Regions from separate parts of the Homo sapiens genome. Here region 1 is linked to region 2. The links are contacts of gene promoters, found by promoter capture Hi-C in human tissues and cell types (Jung and others, 2019). All regions are on one chromosome and are shown on one strand. The core of a region is centred on a gene start or on the middle of the fragment in contact, and the rest is flanking DNA. Distances in the headings are between cores, read along the strand shown. Region 1 overlaps FAM76B (family with sequence similarity 76 member B). Region 2 holds the start of MAML2 (mastermind like transcriptional coactivator 2).

Evidence for each region. The method cuts DNA at HindIII sites, captures the fragments that hold promoters and counts their contacts. A contact is called where the count stands out against the background at its distance.
Region 1: a contact is called between a fragment that was not itself captured here and the fragment with the promoter of MAML2 in region 2, in 1 of the 25 tissues and cell types used here (lymphoblastoid cells).

The regions. Positions count from the first base shown.
Region 1 is chr11:95,769,662-95,775,258 of GRCh38, forward strand. FAM76B (family with sequence similarity 76 member B) reads right to left here. Exons shown (of 10, transcript NM_144664.5): 10 at 1-1,989. The coding sequence ends at 1,900. Among named protein-coding and RNA genes, the nearest start is that of FAM76B, 17 kb to the right of the region's middle. The HindIII fragment of the contact is 4,038 bases long and covers 621-4,658 here.
Region 2 is chr11:96,341,575-96,347,445 of GRCh38, forward strand. MAML2 (mastermind like transcriptional coactivator 2) reads right to left here and starts at 1,621. Exons shown (of 5, transcript NM_032427.4): 1 at 1-1,621. The coding sequence starts at 321. RefSeq lists silencers at 238-497, 1,615-1,804. The HindIII fragment of the contact is 9,356 bases long and covers 1-5,871 here.

The DNA.
Region 1 (5,597 bases), core at 1,390-3,889, 570 kb before region 2:
CATTACAAATTTCAAAGAAAGGTAATAACTATCTTATGAATTTAGCAAATCCTGCAAACGTTAAAATCCATGTTAAGGCATTATCTATCATGGTTGAGAGTACTAAATTTAAGAAAATTATTACATGAAGATCCCATAAAAATAAACTGGTTTAGTTTACAAGATTCTAACTGAATCTTTTTGTATCACTTGAAAATTACCCTATATTATGCTTTCAAAATGGACAAAGAATTATTTGGTATTCACTTTATAATGAACTATGAGAACAGTCTATTGAAACACGTCATGTTAAAAAAAAATTGTTTCAATCATGTGTTCTTAAGAAAGCCAATCTTTGATATGACATTCACAATCAATGCTTGTATAAAACAAAACCTTTAAAACTTATAAATTTAGTAACAGTTTTACATGAAGCAAATTTATCTTTGCCCATAAATTATTAAGAGAAGCAACTCACTCTATACAGTGTATCTAGCAATACTTTAAAATCAAACTAAAACTCTGAACTGATAATAACTAGGAGATAAATTCTATTTCAGGCTGAAAACCGCTGGATCAGAATATAGTCAATAACTTCATATAACCTATCCCACCCTACCTTAACCTTTTATAGACAATTTTAAAGACTTTAGGACAATTTACTTATAATGCCTGAATCTTATAGTAGATTCCAATTTATTCAAAGATTATCACAGATTGGATTAAAAAGATCATTTAATTTTTTTCAGATTTGCTTTAAATTTACAAATTACATTGTACATAAATATTAACTTAGATAACCACACATAGGGAAAGCAGATACATGGATCATTGCAGAAACATTAAAATTTTTAAAAAATTTTATAAAATATAAAGCAAAACATGTAACTCACACAATACTAATATGAAGCCACATGACATAAAAAATAAAATTACTCTTTAAGAAGCAACTTAAAATTAAATCTTTGGGGAACTATTTTGACATAATTAAATGAATTCAAAGACCAACAGCTTCCCTTATCACACAGAAACAAATCACAAAATTTTCTACAATCTATATGCATTATCAGTTAGTTCTAAATGTAATCTCAAACATTTTACTAGCAACTTTGATTTCCTTTTGAAATAGGCTTCTGTACATATGCATTTATATACAAACATTTATTAAACATGATTTTAAAACAAAATGTATGTACAAAAGATCAGCATTCCTATAAATAAAAACATTAGGTGGCAAAAAGGCACTTGTAAGTAAAAATCTACAGTAGTTTTTACAAAACAGAAACACATTTTACCTTAGATACTGTACAATAAACATTAATTCCTATACCAATAATGAAAATGCTAGGTTACTAATGTTAATGATGTAACTTTAAAAAACAAATTTACATATATCTGAAGTTCATTTAATAAAAGCACCGTGATTTTCTCCTAAATTCATCTTGATGCAAAGTAAAAACACAATTCCCAAAAAACCAGTGTTCGCCATTTTTCGAGTTTAAAAGTTTTTGTATTTCTAAATTGAAAACTGTTTGTCTGAAATTAGCATAGTGTAAAACAAAAACAAAACAAAAAAACCCTGCTGCTCTGACTTCTGAAACCATACCTACTCTATTATTGCATGTTGCGTTTCATAAAGAGCACTACTCATGCACTCCTTTACAACTGTTTAATACTATTGCTGGCAAAAAAGTTCCTGGATATCAAATAATTAAAAAGTTACTTCAAACCAGTTGAAGTTTTATTTGAATGTTTTACAACTTAAAAAATGCTGTATATCAATTACAAAAGTGAACAGGAAACACACCAATTCATTTGGTGTGCAAAAATATTTTTCTACTACACAGAATTTAAGGGCTTCACAGAATTTTTTTTCCCCAAATTTACATTGTAAGAAGAAATGCTAAACAAATGACTTTCTCAAGGAGATGTTAGTATGCTTCCACTTTTGTCAAATTTTTTACCCTTTGATAATGCTGCGACCTGTTTGAGTAGTTCTCTGTTTTTGGCCTGTGGGAGACAAAAACATTCAAGATTAAAAATGTTTGAAATATTATTAAGTCATGCTGAAGAATACTACTTATTTAATACTGTTTTCATTTATATAAATGTTTCACTAAAGCACTAACATTAAATGAAAGAGTTGATACCTTTACATTCATCTCTTTAAGGATGAACATGCAGAAGGAAAATTCTAGATTGGCTCATCAGCCCCCTTTGTATATGTCATTATTAATATAATTGTGTCCAAAGATGCACAATTGGTTACAAAAAAGGAAACAAAGTGAATCCACTTAAAAGAAGGTCCAAATTTTAATAGGGAAAAGGTGTTTGGCCCTTCATCTTAAAAACATGAAAACTATGAAAATAAGTTGTAATTTACAATTAATAAAATCAAAGAATGAATCAAGATTTGGGAGGAGTATTTCCTGGCAAGCTGTATAAGGTCTTTTTTCTATGTTTACTCTCTTGTAGAACAAGCATAAGAGGTCATTTTTGCAAAAACAACTCAGAATTTGTTACTTTGCCAAATGCACCCAATGATATTCAATTTTTTTTAAAGCACCCATCAGAACCACTCATTATCTTGTTGTTCCTTTAGTTACCAGTCATCTGACACTGATTTTAGTGTGGTTTGAGCAGTTCCACATCATCATTTCCTATCTCATGAAAGCTTGAATTTTTACAAAGATTCAAAATTTCATTTCATCATCTGACTTGAATTTCATTATTAAATGTCCATCCATCACTAGTTTAGTGAAGAGGAATGTGTAAGTACAGTGAATATTTTCACATTTTGACTGCCTTTGTCACCTTATTCAGTCTCTTAAATATGAAAACTTAGATAGTAAGGATCCCTATATATACAAATACATTAATGATCAAGCATTTTTGTAGTTTGAGCCAAAATGGGGAAAGTGATGAAAATAGAGCACTGCCCTAAAATTAACACATTTTAAAAAGATATCCTCTGACTTATGTTTCAACACCATTTTCCTTCACAGGTTCCAGGAATTTTTATTATATAGACAGACTTTTTTAATCTCAGTACTTCATATTTTATTCTAATTTTAGCTTTTTACGGGCAGATAACACTCTGCCTTCTCTGTATGCCATCTTAAAGTGGTTTCATGAAATAACCTTTTTCAAACTTTATTCTTCCATTCCCCCACCCTTCTTCTCCAATCACTCTTGCTAATTAACACCCATGACCTCTAAAATGCAAATATTCTCAGTACTATCTTATATGTGCAAATCAAATAATTTTTTATGTTCAGATGCATGATCAATAGAACTTTCCTATTCAGTGGTTATTAATAACTAAGGTGGTAACGAAAAACTTCAATTTCAAATTCAGTATCAATTTCAAATTTTGAGTCTGCAAATTTGACTCAAAAAGATCTCCACTAGATCTGTTAAGTTATATTTATCTAAAAATGTTTATACTGATACAAAATAGTTAAAATGTGAATCTCCAAGTTCTTATCTCAATTATCAAGAAATAAAGTGTTTATAATTTTCATATTTTAAGTACAAAATACAATAATTTGAACATTAGGTCTTCAAAGCAATTTTTCCATTTAATGCTTTGGTAGCTAATTTCCAATTTGCTTTTAATATATTTATATCACTAATAAAGATATTTCTTAATAAATTACATAAGACAAAAGTCTTTATGGTAAATAAATAACACAATTGTTAAGTACAAGTCCAAATTATTCTAATTTGAATACTTTAAAAATGAATTTTATGCCATATTTCAATATATGTACATTTAAATTGTTTTATCCTAAAATTACTTCATTTTGCAGCCAGCCAAAAAAAAAAAAAAAAATCAATGAAATTCTTTACAGACTCTTAAGAAAGCTAAGTTTTAAAGTTTAGACATGTTGGTGCAAAGGAAAGAATATCAGGATTAAGAATTACATAGATCCTGCTTTAAATCCTGGCTTACTTACCAGCTACATAACCTGGAGCATATTTTCTCATTTGTAACACAAACTCCACCATCCGAACTCAAAATGAGTTGAAGGAACTTATCAAATATATAAAACACTTAGCCTAACACAGTTCCTGGTACACAGAAGGCACTCAAATGTTAGGTCCCTTTTCCTTTTAACCACTTACCTAATTAAGTGAATAAGAGTTTTAACTTGATATTCTTAGTATTTTCAATATTTGGGGTATTTTGGGGTGACATTTTGAACAATTTTTTCATGTGATGTTCAGTGTTTTGTCGTAGGTTTGGCAGTTAAAAATATTTTACTAGCTATTAGAGCAAGATCCATCTTGTGTCACAGGATTCAATTCCTTATTACATAAAGATAAAAAAAAAATTACCGGTTTCCTCACCTCAGTAAAGAATCCTACTAGTATCACTTGGTTGCTAAAGGAAGTGAGGTAAAAAGATGGCACTCAGCTATGACAGATTGTCTCTAGCCATAACACAAAAAAATCAGGGAAGTGGCCTGATAGGAAGGATGAAATAGAAAACCTGAGGAACCTGAAGTGGTGGGAACTAGTGTAGGACAGGGAAAAGTATAGATAAACTGGAGTGAGAAGACAGAGATTTCTACGTCACCGCTTACTGTGTGATCACAGTTTCCTCTGTAAAATGGGCATATCACATAACCCAGTTTTTGCAACAAGTAAGACAGCATATGTAAAATCATGTCAAAATGTCCTATTTAAATATTGGTTACTTTTATACTACATGAAACTTCAATTACCAAGAGGAGGTAGGCCTAAGATATCTATCAGGCTAAGTCAAAGATGACCCCATGTATTTGCAACTATGATTTTAAAAAAGAAAAACCAACACACAAACTGCTCTTTTGAACAGTGGGGAGCACTAAGTTAAAACATATCTGAGCACCTATTGCAGTTATTCTGTTATCTCATTCTGGATTTACTTCAGAGCTTTGGTTACATTACATTAAATCAAAGATCACCAGGTGGAAGATTTTGTTCCAGGTAATCATTCAGCATTAATAACTGAGTAAGAAAAACAGGAATAACATAAAATTAAAAATAATACTTGCTGGTGGATAAAAACATTGACTAATATATAAGAATCTGATATATGATACGGGCAATCTCTCAGAACAGAGGGCTGATGGGCATTTCCATAAATCACCACCTAGTCAACAAATTATTTGAATGCCTACTATGTCTCAGGTTCTACATGAGGTTCCTTTTTCAACAGTCTTTGTAATAGTATGATAGGGATTAAGACCAGATAATCTGTACCTCGAATTTGAGCAAGTTCCTAAATCCTACTAATTTAAGCTACTTGCAAAGAAGTATGAATAATACAAAACCAAAAGAAAGAAATAGCAAATATCCTTTGGTGTTACAATGTGAAAAAAAAAAAACAAAATGAAACAGGACAGTATTAACTCCTTCCTTCTGAAGCTGTACTCTCCCAAGTCTGACGTCTGTGTGCTGCCATCTTCCATTAACATTTAAAACTTCTTTCACCTTAAAAATTTTGTTACTAAAGACTAATTTTACAAATGTGAGACTGTATAAATCAAAGAGAACATGTAATTAATTTAGTGTGGTCTGATTTCTAAATGTATGAAACCTAGAAGAGAAGCAGCTTAATATGGTAGCAT
Region 2 (5,871 bases), core at 371-2,870:
CGGTGGAGGGGCTGTAGTGGTGGCAGCAGTGGCGGTGGCCTTGGTGTGTTTGCCAGCTTTCCTTGCCCCCTGGCCATGCTGTACAAGGCTCAGGAGCTGCAAGGTGCTTTCTCTTTCCCGGTCTGAGCTCTCGGCCCTACCTCGTTCATATCGTCCTTCACAGCTCAGGTGGTGTTGGCGGCAGACAGCGATCCGAGCCCGGAGGCGCTCCACGATAGCACTGTGCACTCTCGGGGTGACTGAGCCCCCTCCAAGGAGCCCCGCCCCAGAGGCCCCCCCTAGCCCTCCTGCGGGGGCCTGCGGGGGCGCTGTGTCCCCCATCTTACCGGACACAATGATTGCTGCCTCTGGGATGGTGAGGTGGAAAGAGGCTACTGCTGGCTATTGCAGGCAAGTCTGTTTTTGACAATGTGAGCTCAGTGTTCAGGGCCACATGAATAGAGGTCTTCAGAGGTTGTGGGGGAGCCGTGGAGAAGTTGTGGGGGAGGGGAGTTAGTAAAAAGAGGGTGGGGAGAAAGAATAGAAACCAACTGGGGGGAGGATAAGTTGGAAACAAACCCTGATTAACTTACTCTAATTGCATTTGACAGCTCTGGAGAAGTTGGACAGAGTTGGTGGATTTTTTTTCCTCCACCAAGCTGACAAGAGCCACTAGGTACTTTGTAAACACACGATCTGGGGGTTAGATCAAGAATTCAGGGATTGTCCAGCAAGAGACAGAAACACACAGCAAAAGGTATTGAGAGAGGTATTAATAGAGAGGACTCCCCCTCACCTAGTTGTTTCCGACAATTCTTTATGGGGATGTTTCTGCAGAGAAACACATTTCTACCATGTCTATGTAACCAGCAGCCTTGACTTTTCCTCAGGTTAAATAAAAAACCAAAACAAAACAAAACAGTGCTGTTTCAGAAGATGTTTAAGTCACTGTTCAAAATGTGCAAAAATCAAGGGAGACTGTCTTTTGGCTTTTAATTTTTCCTCCCTTTCCTTTCGCTCCGGTGTTTTCTCCTCTTTGGGGTACTGTAGGATGTTGTCTTCTCCCAAAAGAGGGAGACAGCTTTTCAACTGTTAACAATGTCAGTAATTGGACTTTTGGACCATGCTTTTTTCTTCAGCTAATCCAATCACCGGTAAAATCCTCACTCCCTCTAAGGTTTCCTAGCCTTAAATGAAAAGCAATCTTAAGTCGCTAGCCACTGAGAGAGATCCTTCAACACATTTTTTTCTTTCCCGCTTACGTTTCTATTCCTCACCCCCGGCTCTATTCTAATACAGTATCAAGAGAGACAAACTCTTCCGAGAGTAATTTACAAACGATGGTCAAACTTACAAACTTCCAGCAAATTGCACCGAGTCATGTCCAGCCACTTTTCTGTCCACTTTTGTACATTCCATCCCCGGCCAGTGGATCTGAGGGTCTGGACTCGCAATAAGCAATCTGGTTCTATCTCCTGTATTTGCTCCGCTTTATAGATGGAAAAAAAAAGTAGCTTGTATTTTCCTTTCTCTTTCTCGTCTGTTGTTAGCCGCTTTGCTGACACTGGCTCGCGCCCGGAGTCACGGCGATACACAGGCTTTCATTGTGCTCCGATAGGAGAGGGAGAGAAAGAGAGAGAGTGAGACAGAGAAGGAGAAAGAGAGAGCCAGCAAGCTGCAGATGGGGGTGGGGGGGCGGGGAGAGGGCGGGAGAGCTCGTTCGAGGCTCCCTGGTGGAAGGCTGGTGCCACTGCGCGAGTGAGTAATCGCAGCCAGGCACCGGGGAAAGGGGAACGCAGAGGGCCTCCCAGTGGCTGAAGAGGTAAATCCCAAGCCCTGCGCATCTCAGCTGCCCTGGCTCAGCTCAGCATCAGACTCGGTTAAGCGGGGAAGGCTGGGGAAATTCCCCAACCTCTACACAACCATTTCACCAGCTCTAAATGTTTAAGAAATTCCGGGCCAGGAATGTGTTTTCCCTTTCAGCCCTACATTACGCCCCGCTGAGGATATCATTTTCATTTTTCAGTATATTGTAAATGACACCACTGAGCAACCTAGCACGAGCTGTGTGAGCACCGAGGAAATGTTCATTAATAGAATAAGGAAGATATGAATGTGTGTGTTGAGGGCGGAAGGGGTTGCGCGTGGAGAGGAGAGGTAATCACATTGTTAGCTCCTAAAGGGCAGGCAGGTGTAGCGTTTGTCTACCTGCCTGCCCATTTGTGTGTCTCTGGATAAGTGAGTCTGGGTGATCACAGGCAAATCAGTTGGGATAAATAAAATATTTTATGAGAATGATACAATTATCGATACCAGTTCTAGAAAAAAACGCTTTTTTTTTGGGAATGCATGATTGCCTATGAAAAACCAAATATAAGACCTGAAGTATCCTTAGCTACCTGGTGCACATATACAATGAGGAAAGTCAATGTGTAGCAGCTGAGTTTCAAAAAGTTTTTTTTTTTTTTTTCTTTTAATGGAGTCTTGTTATGTTGCCCAGGCTGGAGTTGAACTCCTGGGCTCAAGTGATCCTCCCACTTGAGCCTCCTGAGTAGCTGGAACTACAGGTACTCACCACTACTGCACCTGGCTCTGAGTTTCAAGAAGTTTAATAATAGAAACCAAATAGATCTCACACAGATCATTGTTCCCCCATTTTCAAGTGATCCAACCTTTAAAATATCCAATCCTGGCCAGGCACAGTGGCTCACGCCTGTAATCCCAGCACTTTGGGAGGCCAAGGCAGGTGTATTACCTGAGTTCAAGAGTTCAAGACCAGCCTGGCCAATATGGTGAAACCCCGTCTCTGCTAAAACTACAAAAATTAGCTGAGCATGGTGTCATACGCCTGTAATCCCAGCTACTCGGGAGGCTGAGACAGGATAATTGCTGGAACCCAGGAGGCGGAGGTCGCAGTGAGCTAAGATCACGCCACTGCGCTCCAACCTGGGCAACAGGGTGAGTCTCTGTCTCCAAAAAAAAAAAAAAAACTTATTGTGGATTCTGCTTATTTTCAATTATGAAGATTAAATTAAGGTGAGCATAATACTGCAACAGTCAGGACCAAAAATATTCTGGGTATCCTAATTTGGAAGTCATTTGGATTTGAGGTCTCAAATAATATACCTTCAGTAATCTAAACAAACTCTGGCATTTCACGAATATGGTCGTTTCAAACTGAGCTATGGATAGAAATAGGCAAAATCAAGGCAAACATCTCAATACTGGATTTATTTGCAATTTAGTTCCCTATAGGATAGCCTACTTTAGTCCATTTTATTTTCACCAATCCTGTTAGCTTGGAAATGGGGACAAATACACTCAGATTTTTTGTTTGTTTTATAATTTCTTTTATTTCTTTTTTTAAATTTTATTATTATTATACTTTAAGTTTTAGGGTACATGTTCACAACGTGCAGGTTTGTTACATATGTATACATGTGCCATGCTGGTGTGCTGCACCCATGAACTCGTTATTTAGCATTAGGCATATCTCCTAATGCTATCTCTCCCCCCTCACCCCACCCCACAACAGTCCCCAGAGTGTGATGTTCCCCTTCCTGTGTCCATGTGATCTCATTGTTCAATTCCCACCTATGAGTGAGAACATGCGGTGTTTGTTTCTTCGTCCTTGTGATAGTTTGCTGAGAATGATGGTTTCCAGCTTCATCCATGTCCCTACAAAGGACATGAACTCATCAATTTTTATGGCTGCATAGTATTCCATGGTGTATATGTGCCACATTTTCTTAATCCAGTCTATCATTGTTGGACATTTGGGTTGGTTCCAAGTCTTTACTATTGTGAATAGTGCCGCAATAAACGTACCAGTGCATGTGTCTCTATAGCAGCATAATTTATAGTCCTTTGGGTATATACCCAGTAATGGGATGGCTGGGTCAAATGGTATTTCTAGTTCTAGATCCCTGAGGAATCGCCACACTGACTTCCACAATGGTTAAACTAGTTTACAGTCCCACCAACAGTGTAAAAGTGTTCCTATTTCTCCACATCCTCTCCAGCACCTGTTGTTTCCTGACTTTTTAATGATTGCCATTCTAACTGGTGTGAGATGGTATCTCATAGTGGTTTTGATTTGCGTTTCTCTGATGGCCAATGACGATGAGCATTTTTTCATGTGCTTTTTGGCTGCATAAATGTCTTCTTTCGAGAAGTGTCTGTTCATATCCTTTGCCCACTTTTTATGGGGTTATTTGTTTTTTTCTTGTAAATTTGTTTGAGTTCATTTAGATTCTGGATATTAGCCCTTTGTCAGATGGGTAGGTTGCAAAAATTTTCTCCCATTCTGTAGGTTGCCTGTTCACTGTGATGGTAGTTTCTTTTGCTGTGCAGAAGCTCTTTAGTTTAATTAGATCCCATTTGTCAATTTTGGCTTTTGTTGCCATTGCTTTTGGTGTTTTAGACATGAAGTCCTTGCCCACACCTATGTCTTGAATGTTATTGCCTAGGTTTTCTTCTAGGGTTTTTATGGTTTTAGGTCTAACACATAAGTCTTTAATCCATCTTGAATTAATTTTTGTATAAGGTGTAAGGAAGGGATCCAGTTTCAGCTTTCTACATATGGCTAGCCAGTTTTCCTGGCACCATTTATTAAATAGGGAATCCTTTCCCCATTGCTTGTTTTTCTCAGGTTTGTCAAAGATCAGATAGTTGTAGATATGCGGCATTATTTCTGAGGGCTCTGTTCAGTTCCATTGGTCTATATCTCTGCTTTGGTACCAGTACCATGCTGTTTTGGTTACTGTAGCCTTGTAGTATAGTTTGAAGTCAGGTAGCATGATGCCTCCAGCTTTGTTCTTTTGGCTTAGGATTGACTTGGCAATGCGGGCTCTTTTTTGGTTCCACATGAACTTTAAAGTAGTTTTTTCCAATTCTGTGAAGAAAGTCGTTGGTAGCTTGATGGGGATGGCATTGAATCTATAAATTACGTTGGGCAATATGGCCATTTTCACGATATTGATTCTTCCTACCCATGAGCATGGAATGTTCTTCCATTTCTTTGTATCCTCTTTTATTTCATTGAGCAGTGGTTTGTAGTTCTCCTTGAAGAGGTCCTTCAGGTCCCTTGTAAGTTGGATTCCTAGGTATTTTATTCTCTTTGAAGCAATTGTGAATGGGAGTTCACTCATGATTTGGCTCTCTGTTTGTCTGTTATTGGTGTATAAGAATGCTTGTGATTTTTGCACATTGATTTTGTATCCTGAGACTTTGCTGAAGTTGCTTATCAGCTTAAGGAGATTTTGGGCTGAGATGATGGGGTTTTCTAGACATACAATCATGTCATCTGCAAACAGGGACAATTTGACTTCCTCTTTTCCTAATTGAATACCCTTTATTTCCTTCTCCTGCCTGATTGCCCTGGTCAGAACTTCCAACACCATGTTGAATAGGAGTGGTGAGAGAGGGCATCCCTGTCTTGTGCCAGTTTTCAAAGGGAATGCTTCCAGTTTTTGTCCATTCAGTATGATATTGGCTGTGGGTTTGTCATAGATAGCTCTTATTATTTTGAGATACGTCCAATCAATACCTAATTTATTGAGAGTTTTTAGCATGAAGGGTTGTTGAATTTTGTCAAAGGCCTTTTCTGCATCTATTGAGATAATCATGTGGTTTTTGACTTTGGTTCTGTTGATGTGCTGGATTGTGTTTATTGATTTTCATATGTTGAACCAGCCTTGCATCCCAGGGATGAAGCCTACTTGATCATGGTAGATAAGCTTTTTGATGTGCTGCTGGATTCGGTTTGCCAGTATTTTATTGAGGATTTTTGCATCAATGTTCATCAAGGATATTGGTCTAAAATTCTCTTTTTTTGTTATGTCTCTGCCAGGCTTTGGTATCAGGATGATGGTGGCCTCATAAAATGAGTTA